Regions from separate parts of the Homo sapiens genome. Here all the other regions are linked to region 3. Evidence: promoter capture Hi-C in 16 types of primary human blood cells and fetal thymus (Javierre and others, 2016). All regions are on one chromosome and are shown on one strand. The core of a region is centred on a gene start or on the middle of the fragment in contact, and the rest is flanking DNA. Distances in the headings are between cores, read along the strand shown. Region 1 overlaps SLC7A8 (solute carrier family 7 member 8). Region 2 has its middle 12 kb from the start of NGDN. Region 3 holds the start of PSME2 (proteasome activator subunit 2).

The links. The method cuts DNA at HindIII sites, captures the fragments that hold promoters and counts their contacts. A CHiCAGO score of 5 or more calls a contact.
Region 1: a fragment that was not itself captured here is called in contact with the fragment with the promoter of PSME2 in region 3 in 1 of 17 cell types (M0 macrophages); the score reaches 5.0 in M0 macrophages.
Region 2: a contact is called between a fragment that was not itself captured here and the fragment with the promoter of PSME2 in region 3, in 1 of 17 cell types (naive CD8 T cells). The highest score is 6.1, in naive CD8 T cells.

What each region holds. Positions count from the first base shown.
Region 1 is chr14:23,161,923-23,166,470 of GRCh38, forward strand. SLC7A8 (solute carrier family 7 member 8) reads right to left here. Exons shown (of 11, transcript NM_012244.4): 2 at 4,414-4,548; 3 at 3,363-3,514. Among named protein-coding and RNA genes, the nearest start is that of SLC7A8, 19 kb to the right of the region's middle. The HindIII fragment of the contact is 1,337 bases long and covers 583-1,919 here.
Region 2 is chr14:23,479,412-23,484,555 of GRCh38, forward strand. No RefSeq gene overlaps it. Among named protein-coding and RNA genes, the nearest start is that of NGDN, 12 kb to the left of the region's middle. RefSeq lists enhancers at 2,660-3,417, 3,418-4,174. The HindIII fragment of the contact is 5,436 bases long and covers 1,037-5,144 here.
Region 3 is chr14:24,143,362-24,147,861 of GRCh38, forward strand. PSME2 (proteasome activator subunit 2) reads right to left here and starts at 3,249. Exons shown (of 11, transcript NM_002818.3): 1 at 3,173-3,249; 2 at 2,847-2,879; 3 at 2,349-2,411; 4 at 2,018-2,104; 5 at 1,882-1,912; 6 at 1,697-1,794; 7 at 1,039-1,107; 8 at 831-898; 9 at 614-668; 10 at 224-310; 11 at 4-128. The coding sequence starts at 3,220. The coding sequence ends at 48. It overlaps RNF31 (ring finger protein 31), which reads left to right and starts at 4,137. Exons shown (of 21, transcript NM_017999.5): 1 at 4,137-4,500. The coding sequence starts at 4,338. It overlaps MIR7703 (microRNA 7703), which reads right to left and starts at 204; the gene lies at 128-204. RefSeq lists silencers at 3,295-3,354, 4,055-4,144, 4,175-4,404 and enhancers at 3,665-3,734, 3,872-4,372, 3,919-4,213. The HindIII fragment of the contact is 5,988 bases long and covers 2,930-4,500 here.

The DNA.
Region 1 (4,548 bases), core at 1-2,500, 980 kb before region 3:
TCTAAAAAAAAAAAAAAAAAAAGCATCTACCAAGCCTTCCTGACAGCTTGGTTCTTGTTTTACTGAATACCGTATGAGAGGATTGGATGCTTATCTGGTATGGCCTGCCATAAAATTCAAAAAAAGAAGAGAGGATTTGAGGGGCCTATAGAAGTGGATTAAAAAAAAAAAGTATTCAACAAACCGGAAAACAGAACCTCTGTACACAGACTCAAAGCAGCTGGGAGTGTCAGGTATAAGGAAAGGGAGAGAGGAAGTTTGTTATAGCTAATGCATGTACGTGTGCACCCTGCCGGGCAGAGGGATGGCAGCTCCACATGGCCTTCACAGCTAGGAGGAAAGGGACACTGCAGCGGGACAGGTGTGGAGCTGGTTTCCATTTCCCCTAAAGGAAATAAGGAAGACTACGCTTGGGAATAAGAAGGATTTAAGATTTTTCTGCTTATGAAGGTAGACAAATATTTGAACCCATATTTCAAGGACATTGAAAATTCCTGTCTTTAGAGGACAAGATTGGCTACTGTTAAGTTGGAGATAATTTCCTTGCAGTTCTGCTGAGAAGGCAGAGGCCAAACTTAGATAAGCTTTATTGAATCTTTGACTACAGGAATAGAGGAGGGGGGTCTTGTCATTTTTGTCATCAGCCAGTTTCTAAATTTCTCCTTGGCTTGGTCCTTGCAGTGTCTAGGTGAGGGGAAGGCTGTGGAGAGGACTGTGCAACATGTCATTCTGGAGCAGGGCTACAGGCAGGTGGCGTTCTTATCTCCTAGGAGAGTTTGGACCTTTCTGGTCCGAGGGGACGCCAAAAAGGCTACACTACTTTGGAGGGTCTTTGTGCAAGAGGTCAAACCCTTGGCAGATTTGGGGAATGCAAAGAAAGCCATGGGGTCTGGCTGCCTGGGAACTTCTTCAACCTGTGGCCTGGCTCCTCTCCTAGGGTGCAAACTGAACAGCCTCGGGGGTTCTTGATTTCTAGTAGAAGGGTAAGGGTGGCCTCTTGTCTGAGACACTTTAGCAGCATCAGCAGGAAAAAGGAAGCTGTCTGTGTGCAAAGAAACACCAAAACAGCAGTAGCTAGCACTTCTGTGGCCTTGCCTCCCACCCTCCCATTAGCTGATCTGATGGCAGAAACAGCACTCTTCCTGCATTCCCACGCCCTCGCTCTTCCCCGCTCCCCATCTCAACTCTGGATCCAGCTAGGATGCAAGGATAAAGTGGCCCCAGCATCTTGCCCACCCCCAGTGACTGATATGACTGGGGTGCTGGGTGTCTAACACTGTGCTGAGGGTGTCCCCTTCCTTCTCTCTTGCAGTCCTTGTGACCACGACCTCTTGAGGCAGCTAGGATTACACTCCCCATCTCACAGTAGGGTGGACGAGTGATTTTGCCCAGCACTCACCACTGCAGTTAGAAATGGTGGACTGGAGATGCAGGCGCAGGCAGCCTGGTTTTGGAGCCTGCATTCCTCTGCCTCCAGATCTGTGAGCAGGCCTGATCAAACACAAGGAATACACCCCCAAACAAATGTCTTGGCCCCATATTGCAAATGGCCTGGGTGGTGGAGGTCTGTCCCAGGGTTGACCAGCACTGCCAAAGAGGGCTCACTTGCCAAGGAGACCGCCTCTTGGGTCCCAGCTGCCTGCCCTGTAAGAGGCTACTGAGGTGGGTGAGTGATCTCTTCCTCCCCCATCCCGTAACAGGACAGAAGGAAAAGTGTCAGGACCTGGGAAAGCATATGGCCAGGATGATCACTGCCCTCAGCTAAGTGTATGTGTGTTAGAAGCTATGGGAAGGCAGGGACCCAGTGAACCCTAGAGGTGGAGCCCCTGAAACATATCTAAGTATTTACTTTAGAAATTAGTTTTTGATTAAAGATGTAAAATACCCCAATCCATTGAGATGACTAATATCAGAGATAAAGCTTTGAGACTTCCTAGAAATACGGCTCTGCAGAACTTCTCTAGGAAGCCTCTCTAACCTATTCCAGCCCACAGAGATCTTTTCCCCTTCTCTGAATTTTATTGTTATTGTTGTTTTTAATTTCTTTTTTTTTTTTAGAGACAGGATCTCACTATGTTGCCCAGGCTGGAGTGCAGTGGCTATTCATAGGTGTAATCATAGCTCACTGTGGCCCAGAACTCCCAGGGTCAATCGACCCTCCTACCTCAGCCTCCCAGGTAGCTGGAACTACAGGTGTACACCACCATGCCTAGCTCCCTTCTCTGAATTTTTACTGCAATTGAATCCTAACCACAGTATCTGTCTATATGGCTTTTCTCCTAGTTAGAAAACTCATCAAGGGCAGGGATCATGGACAAACCCTTCTCCAAGAGAGTTAAAAGAGTGTGACTTGACAAGTTGAGGTAGAAGTAGATGTGGACCTACTGCCAAGAAGCCAGAGTAATCTTCCTAGGAGCAGCTGGGAGTAGCCAGCACAGTGCAGTGCACTGGACAGACAAGAAATCAGGAGCCCTTGCACTCCACGTGGCCTGCCTCCCTGGGCAAGTCATTTGCCTGGCTCTCTGTTTCCTTATCTGTTCTGGGAAAATGTTAACACTGGCCCAGCTTACCTCATGGACTTGTCATTAGGCCCAAATCAGATAATATAGGTGAAAGTGCTTTGCGTAATGTCAAGAACCCTGCCAGTGAAAATCATAGTGCCTCCAAGGAGCTACTTAAGTTTCTTTCTTTTTTTTTTTTTAACACCAGACAATTGTATGCAGAATCCATTCATAAAAAACACACTTGTAGGAAATTGAAAGAAAAGTAATGGGGAAAAGAAAAGGAGGCAGGGTGAGGTGGGTCAGGCCTGTAATCCCAGCACTTTGGGAGGCCAAGGCGGGCGGATCACTTGAGGTCAGGAGTTCAAAACCAGCCTGGCCAACAGGGTGAAACCCCATCTCTACAAAAAATACAAAAATTAGCCGGGCATGGTGGCTCACGCCTGCAATCCCAGCAACTCGGGAGTCTGAGGTGGGAGAATCACTTGAATCTGGGAGATGGAGGTTGCAGTGAGTGGAGATCACGCCACTGCACTCCAGCCTGGGTGACAGAGTGAGACCCTGCCTCAAAAAAAAAAAAATGGAGAGAAGTTAGGAGAGTCAGAGACATGTAGACCTCCAGGGAGGATAAAAGAGGCTGTCCCTCAGACTGGGTGCAGTGGCTCACACCTGTAACCACAACACTTTGGGAGGCCGAGGCAGGAGGATCACTTGAGCCCAGGAGTTCAAGGCTGCAGTGAGCTATGATCATGCGGCTGCGCTCCAGCCTGAGTGACAGAGTGAAGACTCTGTTTCTAAAAATAATAATAATAAATATAATAAAAGAGGCTGTCTTGCTACCAAGACCCAGATGACACTTACATAAGCAGATGGCAGCCAGGAGCCGAAGGCCAGACTCTGGGGGGAAGCAGGTGGGGAAGAGCGGCTGCAGCACGTAGTTGGAGAAGGTGAGGGCGATGACAGCCTGGTTGGTGGGGTAGATCACCAGCACAGCAATCCACAGCCTCAGGAACCTGAAGGAGGAAAGGGACATCCGCCGAAAGGCATGGCAGGGACGCAGAGCCATCAGGGGAGAGCCCGGGCAAGTCATGCATCTCTTTTTTATTTTCAAGGATGCTGAAGAGCCCAGCCTCTGCCCCCACCCACAAATGAGACACCCAGCCCTCTGCAGTGACAATAAAATGGTTTAATGAAGAGTTAAATTTCCACAAGCACTAACACAAGTCTTGGCGTTCTTCCTTTCTCTCCTCTCCTTTCATGATCTCTTCTCCATCACTGTGGCCACCAGCATCCAATGGTGGAAAAACAAAATTTGCAACCCCAGAATGTTGATAGACAGGACATACTAAGGGTGTGGTTACGTAAGCAATAATCAGGAGAGGTATCAAGTGGGGGTTTGCAGGGGAAGCGCCTTCCACACCTTTTGGCCCATTGGTGAGGGTTTACCAATGGCAGGGATGCAGAAATTGAGGAAATTTAAGATTAGGGCCCAGCTCTAGAGGGAGGCCATTATCCTTGGTAGTGTGAGAAGAGGGTGCACTCTACCTTAGCTGGCCACTCTCATTTGTCAAGATAGAAGGGCGTTGTTTTTGTGATGTGCTTTCTCTGGGAATCTATGGTCAGTGTTGTTACACAGTTCTGTTTGCTCTCACTCATAGACTCCTTCCCACTAAGATCAACATAGAGGTCAAAACTACAAACCTGGTCCTCCATCATTATCGGGAGCCTCAAGGGGATACAAGGCTACACTAGCAACCATGGCAGGAAAGCAGAAGAGACATTCCATTCACTAGCACCCCGTGGCACACTGGAGACTGGAAACCCCTGGCCTTGGCTTTTTCCAATCTGACCTCCTTCTGAATGTCTTCCTCCTTTTCCCCTAGACCATTCAGGTCTCCACAGATCCTCTTACCCAGCCAGTCCTCCGAAGATGTCCTTGACATAGGAGTAGTCACCTCCAGATTTGGGGATGGTGACCCCGAGTTCAGCATAGCAGAGGGCTCCCACAACTGTGATGAAGCCCGTCACAATCCAGACGATGAGAGCA
Region 2 (5,144 bases), core at 2,505-5,004, 660 kb before region 3:
ATGACACCAAGATGGGCTTATGTCTGGGGCCGCTAACCTTTAGTCCCTGATAGATCTGAGAGAGTCTCACATGCCCTGGGCTCTCATACTTCTGTTTCCTCAAGGGAATCTAAACAAAGAGCCACAAGAACAGATTTAGAGACTTTTTTTCCTTTATGGCTGAACTAACTAGATGAGTGATTCAGTTCAAAAATACTTTAGTTAAAACCACTTCATTTGCTTGTTAGGACCACTATATTTGTTTCTAATTTATTAAGATTTGTGGATTATGGGAACTTCCAGGGGAAGGGAAGTGCTCTTTAAAAAACAAAACAAAACAAAACAAAACAAAACAGGTACTACCTTCTGGCCAGGTGTGGTGGCTCATATCTATAATCTGGACACTTTGGGAGGCTGGGTCAGGAGGATAGTTTGAGGCCAGAGAGTTCAAGACCAGCATGTTTAACACAACAAGACCCTGTCTCTAAAAAAAAATAAAAATAAAAAAATTAGGCAGGTGTGGTGGCGTGTGTCTGTAGTCCCAGCTGCTTGGGAGACTGAGGCAGGGGTATTGCCTAAGCCCTGGAGTTTGAGCTTGCTGTGAGCTATGATCTTACCACTGCATTCCAGACTGAATGATAGTAAGACCCATCAAAAAAAAAAAAAAAATTCCTGTGCTATAGGCTGAGCTAAGTGCTTTATACTTAATCCTTATAAATTTTTTTTTTTTTTTTTGAGATGGAGTCTCACTCTGTTGCCCAGGCTGGAGTGCAGTGGCGTGATCTCCGCTGACTGCAACCTCTGCCTCCTGGGTTCAAGCGATTCTCCTGTCTCAGCCTCCTGAGTAGCTGGGACTATAGCCACGTGCCACCACACCTGGCTAATTTTTTGTATTTTAGTGGAGACAGGGTTTCACTGTGTTAGCCGGGATAGTCTCAATCTCCTGACCTCGTGATCCACCCACCTTGGCCTCCCAAAGTGCTGGGATTACAGGTATGAGCCACCACGCCTGGCAATCCTTATAAAATTTATGAAATCTCCATTTTACTAGTGAGGAAGCTTAGACACTTAGGGCAAACAATTTTTCCTGAGTTGGAGAACCAGTGCTTGGGGAACACTGAGGATGGAGGACTTCAAGTGTCCTGTGGTTCATGAAAATCTTCAGGGTTAAAAAATCTTTTTTTATTTGTAGGTGGTTTATAATCTAGCTCCCCCGCCCTACTGCCCCATTTCTGTTACAGGCCTCGTCTTCAAAGAAACCCTAAGTTCCACAATTCTGGTCTCTTTGTGGTATACCAGTGAACACAGCAGACAAAATCCCTGCCTTTGTGGACCTTATATTAATTCAATCAAGTCTTTAATCCCAGGACATTTTGTTTTCCCTGGCTTTTAGGCATTATTTGAAAGAAGTTTCTGGTAAAAAGTTGAACTATTTCTGAGAATATTTGTACCAGAGTCATCAAACACTGTTTAGAGTGTATTGTTTGATGGAGTATTACATGGATTCTCAATATGTAAAACAAGCATAAGTGGGGTTACTTTGATTGAAGTGGGAATGAGGGGTCCTGAAGTTCCATGTTCTTATGACCCCCTTTCCCCAAGATTCCTGAGGAGCCCCCAAGGAACCTTTAGAATTCCTTAGAATATAGTTTGAAAACAACTGTTAGGGTAGTAGAACAAGGGAACTAAGAACTAGAATTTTAGGATTTCGTTATGGCTGTTCTGGTCACTTTTTTTCTTTCCCTTATTCCTACTAATAGATTCAGTTATCTGATTATTCAGACCATATGAATATCGGATTTCCTCAGTGTATTGCTGACAACAGATCATTTCTGGTGTTCACTAAGTAATAGCTGTCATTAATGCACACATGAGCACCTTACCTGTTTGGTTTTATCATGTGATGGTTTTGTCATGTGATAGCTTTATTCTGTAGAAGTAATTTACATCTCTGCCTCATTCTTTTCATCTTAGGGGACAGGGAAGAGAGTTTGACCAAGGTCTGTCTTTGCCTTAAAATCATTGTTTTGTTAGGATTTTATGAAGGCTTGGGGAAATGTCTATTGGGAATTCACAACAGTCTTCATAGATACCTTATTAGGAAAACTGTGTTTTGTTTGCAGGGGAGATTATTAGTGTGTCAATTTTCAGCACCATGGAGAGTTCAAACGCTCCTCATTCCTTGGTTTGGTGAATGGGACACAGCTAAACCATAGAGCTGCGTGGTGTAGACCTGCCCTTTTTCAGAGCCCAGTTTGTCCAGTCTCCAGTTCTGATTGGTACAGATTGGATGAGAGTCAAACACACCCCTGAGTGTCCCCCATCCTCCCTGGAATCTTTTAGGTCCATAAATCCCAGATTCATGCCAAGGATTTGGCTAACTTGATGGAGGTATGTGAGTGGAATCCTGCCTCCTGCTCCATTGGTAACATCATTTATCATTTATATTATGATACATGAAATTTTTACCAGCCCTTAAGAAAAACTCTGTTCCCTACTCATCTTTGCTTAGAGAACCTTGAGGGGACTTAAAGTTGCTTTTTCATTCCTTGGGCCTCGTTTTCTGCCTCTGCATGAGGAAAGGCATCAATGCTCTGGCTCTCTGCCCAGTCTTGCTTTTGTGTTTCTTTGATCTCATTGTTCAGAGGGTCTCAGAGAAGCCCCCAGAGCCATGCCTTTGCATGTTTAAGCTATTGATGCTTTTGAGATGACAGAGCGTCGCTGTGTAAGAAGTGTATTAAAGGTCTATCGTGAACAAACTTGGGTCAATAGGTGGCAGTAGTCACTGAGTCCTGAGGCCCTGACACCCCCTAAACACAAACACATTTGATGGCCATTATATTTAAGGAAGGATGTGAGAAAGGAGGTCACATTGAGATTAAAACGGGGAGAAAAGCAATCCTTTTTGGTGGAATCCAGGAAATGCTGAAATGTGCTGGATTACATCTGTGGGAGTGTTGTGTGGGGTGTAGGGGAAGATTGCTGTCAGCTAGTGAAGGGCACTGATTGGAAACAGCAGAGCCTCAGGATTGGGGGAACAGATTCATTCATCTAAGATGTAGGTGCTAAGGTTTCTTCCAGCTAGAGTAAGCATGTGTTAAATGAGGACCAGCACTGAAAGGACAGAGTGGGGTTGGAGTGAGTAGAGATACAAGTAGGGGAAGGAGGGGCAGAACTGTGTGACGGGACCGTGGAAAGGGTGGGCTGTGAAGGGGAGGACTGCGGTTAGAGGGGGAGGGGGAGGCTGCTGCAATACTGAGCCTATCTAATGGGGGAGGGGAGGGGGAGATATTGGTGTGTGCTGCAGCTGCATTACTTCCCCTCCCCCACACTTCCCAAGAAGCCAGAGCAGTGCTGGCAAATCTGTCTTCATGTATTTATTATTATTAAAAATGTGACAGATCCTTCCTCCCTGGAAGCACAACAAATACTACTGATCACATTTCTCTCTCCCCTCCCTCTGCAGAGCTTTTGCATTCTCTCTTTCATTCCACCCTGTCCTCCCCCACTTGGTCTGTTTGGTGGGGGGAACCCTTCCCTTCTTTCCTTCTTAGACCTTGGTGGCTCCCTGGGGGTTTCTAATGGTGGTTGGGAGTTTTGAGGCAGTGCTGGGAGGAAGCAGCTGAGTGAGGGGCATTCATGGCCCCAGGGAGGCAGCTGTATTCTCTTATATCCAGTGGGGAGAGGAAATCACTTGGAAATAAAGATAAAAATCCTTTCTCCAGGTAATGAAATAAGCAGGTGCTCACATTCCTTTCAGTACCTGGTGTTCCTCCCTCTTCATATTCTTCTCTTTTCTACTGCCTGAATTCTGAAGGGGAAACCCCCTTGTAATGGAAAAAGCCAGGAGTTCTCTGTCTTCCCTCCCTTACCTTAAGTCCCTCTCTTCCCAGGAAAGCCATATACTATTTATTCTTCTAGCCTGCATGTTGTGTAACCAAGAGATTTGAATGGCAAAAGCCATGGCTTCTTCCTCCCCACCTGCACCCCAGACTCCCATGCCTAGGCGGGAACCTCTTTTGTTGCAGCCTGTAGCCCTTCACCATACCCATAGGTGGTGCTGCTGTTGCTCTGCAGGCAGGGCCCTCCCGGCCAACATCATTCCTCCCCACCCTGTCGCCCTCCCCCTTTCCCCAGCCCTCTACTGCCTGATTGTTATTCCACCAACGTCTCCTCTACTGTTCCCTTCCTCAAATTAATTTTGTGGCGCTCTTTTTTCCGCAGTGCCATCTTCTTCCCCTCCCCCAGCTCCGGCTCTCTTGCTTTCTGTCTCTCTCTTTCTCTGTCTGCAGGATCTCCATCTCACTTCCCTACCTGAAATCTACACTCTTCCCTACTCCCTTTTTCGTTATCTGTTCTACCCCTGACATCTTACAGATGACTCTCCCAATGAAAGGGGGCTGTAGATGAGGGTGGCTTAGAAGAGAACAGGGTGAGGAGAACTGAGGGGTCAGTACCGAAGAGTAGGTGGGAGAATGACGAGGCTCTACAGGGGAAACATGATGGGAGACAGAAGATATCCTTTGCTGTCTGCATCTATTCAGTTCCTGGATTTGGATAAGGAGAGTTCACTTGGCAAGCGATCGATCCTGTGTTATCTGAATCTACAGATTTGGGTTCTACATGCTGGGAAAATGGGAGCTAGGGAATAGCAAGAATTCAGATAATAATGGCTCATCCAGAAACTTTTGGATTAGATTGCTAAGGATACCTCTACTTTCGTTATCCTGTGTTTTGAAGACTGGAGGAGATGTCCTGTTACTGATCTTTTGTGTCCTCAGAAGGTTCTTTCCAGGACAGTTGTGACACTTATGTGATGGACATCCTGGCTCTCTGGTCACTGCTGAGCACAATTCTGGCTGCAGGACCTTGGCTCACTCTTGTAGTCTGCCTCCTTTTTTTGTCATTCCATGTTGTTCCTTTATCACAGCTGAATTTACCTGGTTGCCCCATTCAGCCCACAGTGCCCTGTATTGCTTAGCCTTTCCAGAATATGCCCAAACTCTTTAGACTGTTAGCTCTTGCCTCATCTCGCTTCTTAACTTTATTTTGGAGACCTTTCATTGTGAGACCAGTACCCCACAACCAGCTAATTCAGCAGTGTTTTTTATTGTAAAGTTATCCAATTTCTAGGATGGCTAATTTTTCTCTTATTGGATTATTCT
Region 3 (4,500 bases), core at 1,999-4,498:
GAATCCACACAACATATAGATCATTTATTTTCCTTCTAGTCCCGGGTTCAGTACATAGATGGCTTTTCTTCACCCTTTGGGTTGACAATTTTCTCCAGGTTGCTGCTGATGATATGATAAAGCTCAGCCTGGGAGAAGGCCAGAGTGCAAGAGTCAGGTTCTTAGCCAATCCCCTGCCTGCCCCCACTCATCCACCTCCCCTAAAGCCTTACTCCACACTCACATAGAAGGCCCTCAGGTCCAGCACCATGGCCCTGAGCTCCCCATAGGCTGCCTCATCTCGCTCATGCACCAAGGCCCGGTAATCCATCTGCAATGTGGGAGGCAAAGCTGAGTCAGTCCCATGGGAGGCTGGGACATGAGTCTGGTTTCCTTTTATAGGAAATAGGTTAACTTGAGAATGAACCCCTTCTTAGCACCAAGAAATAGGATCCCAAAGGACTGAGCAGAGAAAAGGGTCAAGGTTGTTGAAGCCCAAACCAGTTTTTCTAGGTAATGCTTTTAGCTTAATATTCTCCACATTGGGAAAGTCACAAACAAGACAAGGAGGACTTCTTCCTCCACACCTCCTCGTCCCACACCCAGCTAAAAGGCTGGTGGACTATCCACTCACTACATGAGTCTCCTTGGAGGCCTTGGCCACAGCATCCCCACGTTCTGAGAAGTACCTGCCAGAAGCAAGGGAATACCACAGGAATGAGTGTTCAGGGAGATGTACTCCCTCAGACCCTTCCCAAAGTCTCCCATCATCCTGATAGGGCTGCCCAGCTCTGGGGGTCCCAAAGAAATGCTCCTACTGCCCCCAATGCTGGTCCTCCAGCTGCCCTCACTTGGAAATGGTTGTCTGGAAAGCTTCCACTTTGGTCTTGACGGCATTCACCCTCTCCAGCACCTTCTCCTGTGGTGACACGGGAGGCAAAGACAACACTTCATGTCCTCCCCATTTCATACACTATCTTCCTCCTCCTCCTGGTTCATGTCTAGCTCACCCCCTGAGGCTCTCCCCACTCTAAGTATCTTCAGTTACCCTTTTCTTACCTGGATTGCTACCCCAAAATCATTTCCATCTTCAATCTTGGGGATCAGGTGTTGGATCCATGTAATCACCTGTGTTAAGAGGTATCATGTAAGAATCATTCAACAAACATACTGAGTTCTTCCTATTACTGTCACTTCCTAAAAAAAGTTATATTTAATTGGGTACTTATTACATACCAGGTACTGTGCCATGTATTTATTTCATGTAATCATCACAGCAACCTTCAGAGATATGTATTTATTGTACCCATTTAACAGATGAAAAAACTGAGTCACAGAATGTCTAAGTGACTTACTTAAGGCTACCAGCTAGGTAACTGATAGAATCACGATTTGAACCTAAGCAGTCTCTCTCTAGGGTCCAATCTTTTAAAACAATTCACTCACTATATCATACCACCTCTACTATGAACCCAATACAGCAGTAGGTTCTGAGGTTACAGAGTGGATACTGCACAGTCTCTAATTTTGGGGGTACCGTTGTGATAAGAGAGGTCTAACAGAACGAGGAGAACAAAGGGGATCTAAGCCCAAGGCACAGAAGGAAGTTTTCTTTTTCAGGACTAGGTCTCTGTATGAAGGACTTGTATCTACGGAGGAGTCCAGGGCCTCACCTTGTGTGTCTTCTCTTTCTGCTTCCCCCATTTCCCAGGCTTACCAGAATGCATTTCTCTTTGAGAGTCCAGACTTCTGGCTTAACCAGGGCAAGCAGGGACAGGACTTTCTCATTCCCAGGGAGAAATCCACACTTATGGACTGTGAGAAAGAGGGGATTCAGGCCCTTTCTCATCCAGTAGTCAGTGTGCCATCACCCCTTCCCTAGTCACCTCTTATCTCTCTTACCTTCTTTCTTCTCCTGCTTATCTGTTTCCATCTAAGGCAAAAAGGGGGGAAAGTAGCTTTAGAAAAGTCACAGAGGTTGAAGGGCTATCTTCTCCATTGGGTTTATAGTCCAAGTCCTGCACCCTGAGTGCCTCACCTCATCATCCTTGGGTGGAGGGTCTGGGATGGGGATGTCCAGTGGGGCCCGGAGGGAAGTCAAGTCAGCCACATTGAGGGAGTCCTCCTGCACAGAGCTCACTGTCAAGGGCTGCCCAACCTCTTCCCTTCATCCTAGGTCACAGCCTTCCCTCCATACATCCCACTTGCACTCTGCCTCCCAACCTAGGCTCATGCCTCACGCCATCCTAATGTTCCTAATCCACTATTTGAAACTATTCTCTGCATGCTGAATCCAGTTGTTAGCTAGAGAGGGTGGGCAAAGGGGATAGAGGACATAGGATGGGGCAGAAGGGGCCCACACTACTCACTTGCAAGAGCTGATTCAGGTATATGATTTTCTGTGGCAAGAATCTGTAGAGGAATTCCTCAGCCTGTGGGTTACATTGCAAGGGAGGGGAATCACAGAATATGCTCAATGAGATGTCTGACAAATGGAACTGGAAGGGCCTTTGGAAATCACTGGGTCCAAGACTTGCAAATGAGGAAACTGAAGACCTGAAAATGAAAGGACTTGCCCAAGCTGGTAAATGGCAGAACGAAGGTTAGGACTGTGATATTCCTGCTTTGGAAGCCATGGTTTTTTTCCTCCACATCAAAAGACGGGAGAAGTGCCAGAAGTCGGGAGAGTCATAAGAAAGGTCAGATTAAAGGTAGCTATCAATAATTCCGGGGTTACTTTGGGTGAAGGCTTGGTAAGGGAAGTAGGGTTAAGTCTAGGGTGACTTGGGGGGGTCATTCTGAGAGGCTGTTATCCTCAAGTATTGGTCCAAGATTCTGGGTCAAATCGCTCAAATCCAGAGACTTACCTCCTGGAAAAGATTCTGTCTGAAGACCTCCACCTACACAGAGAGCAGTACCCGGATGTTGGTTAAGGGTCTGGGTTGTCAAAAGCTTCCACCCACAACAGGGTGCCCTCGAACTGTGGCTCAGGCCTTTCTCACCACAAACTAGCTTTCCCTGGAAGCTCCTGCTCACTGCAGTCAGAAGGCAGGAATCTGGGAATCCCCGAGAAGTGAAGGCACTAGCGAGATTGGGGGAGTTCTCTGGCACTGCTTGGTCCCCTGAACCACCCAGCTTGGCCTCCACCCAAGAGGGTTCTATGACCCCTTCCTGGCCTCCGATTCCCCATTACCTGTTTGCGGGCTTCCCCGCTCAGGCGCACCCCACACGGCTTGGCCATGCTGCTTCAGTCGCTAGATCTCTGGTCTCCCGGCTAGTCGCCCGGGCTTTCGCTTTCACTCCCCAGGTCCAGGCCCGCCCCCCTCAACCCCGCCCCCTTTCTTCTTTCCGCCCCCCTCCTCCCGCTGGCAGGCCGCAAGCAGTAGGTAGCCCCTCAGCCATTCCCAGCCAGTTGCCACTAGGAGAGGCGGTGCTGGCTGGGTCACAGTCCAGGGGCTGCCCGAGGGAGGGGCTAGGGTAAGTGGGACCGCGGAGACTGGAGCGGGGGCTGTCCCTCGGAGAGGGGCGGGGCTTATAGCTAGGGCCAACTGGAAGTCCAGGGTTGGGGTAAGAGAGGTGGGAGTATGGCAAAGGGGGTATTCAGTGGCGGGGCTCCCCCAAGAAGGCTCGACCGCAAGTAGCGGACGGAGAGAGATCAGAGCGAGTGGGAGGGGCAGCCAGAGGGAGCGCCTGGGGTGGAGAAGGACTAGCAGCTCTTAGAAGAGAGCGGGCAGGGGTTGGGTGAGGGTCTTCCCTCTGCCTTCAGGACAGACCGGAGATGGGGCGGGACTCGCTCGAGAGGGGTTAGGGCCGGCCAGAGTCGGTTCCCCTGCAGGGTGGGACTTCCTCGGTGAGGCCCGGAGCGTACCGGACTGGTCCAGCTAGAAAAAGAAAGGTTTTGAGCTGAATAGGATAACCCCGCGCCTGCGGCTATCCGGAAGGGGTGGAACCAGATTGGGGGAAGGCGGGGAAGAGCGCTTGACTGAGGGAAGATGCTGGCGCGCTCTGAGGGAGGAGCCAGGAGCCATTTGCCTTCTCATTGGTTGGGACCTGGCCCTCCCTCTTGGCCGCGCCCCCTGGTTTCCTGACACCGCTCCAACCTTAACCTTAAGCCCCGCCCGTTCCTCCGAAATTGGGTCGCAGTCCCACCCTCTCTCCTAGTACTTCCTGTTCTCGGCTAACCCTGGCGCTGGGCCGGGGGCTGGAGAGTGACCGTGGTCTGAGTGACCTGGGGCGGCTGCGTGGGCCGGGGTGGGCCTCAAAGCCGGGCACCAGACGGGAGGGGCGGCGCTCGGGCCGCGCGCTGCCCGCGCCGGGTCCTGGCGGGCGGCGAGGCTGGGGCTGACTCCTGCCTCAGGATGCCGGGGGAGGAAGAGGAGCGGGCCTTCCTGGTGGCCCGCGAGGAGCTGGCGAGCGCCCTGAGGAGGGATTCCGGGCAGGCGTTTTCCCTGGAGCAGCTCCGGCCGCTACTAGCCAGCTCTCTGCCGCTAGCCGCCCGCTACCTGCAGCTGGACGCCGCAC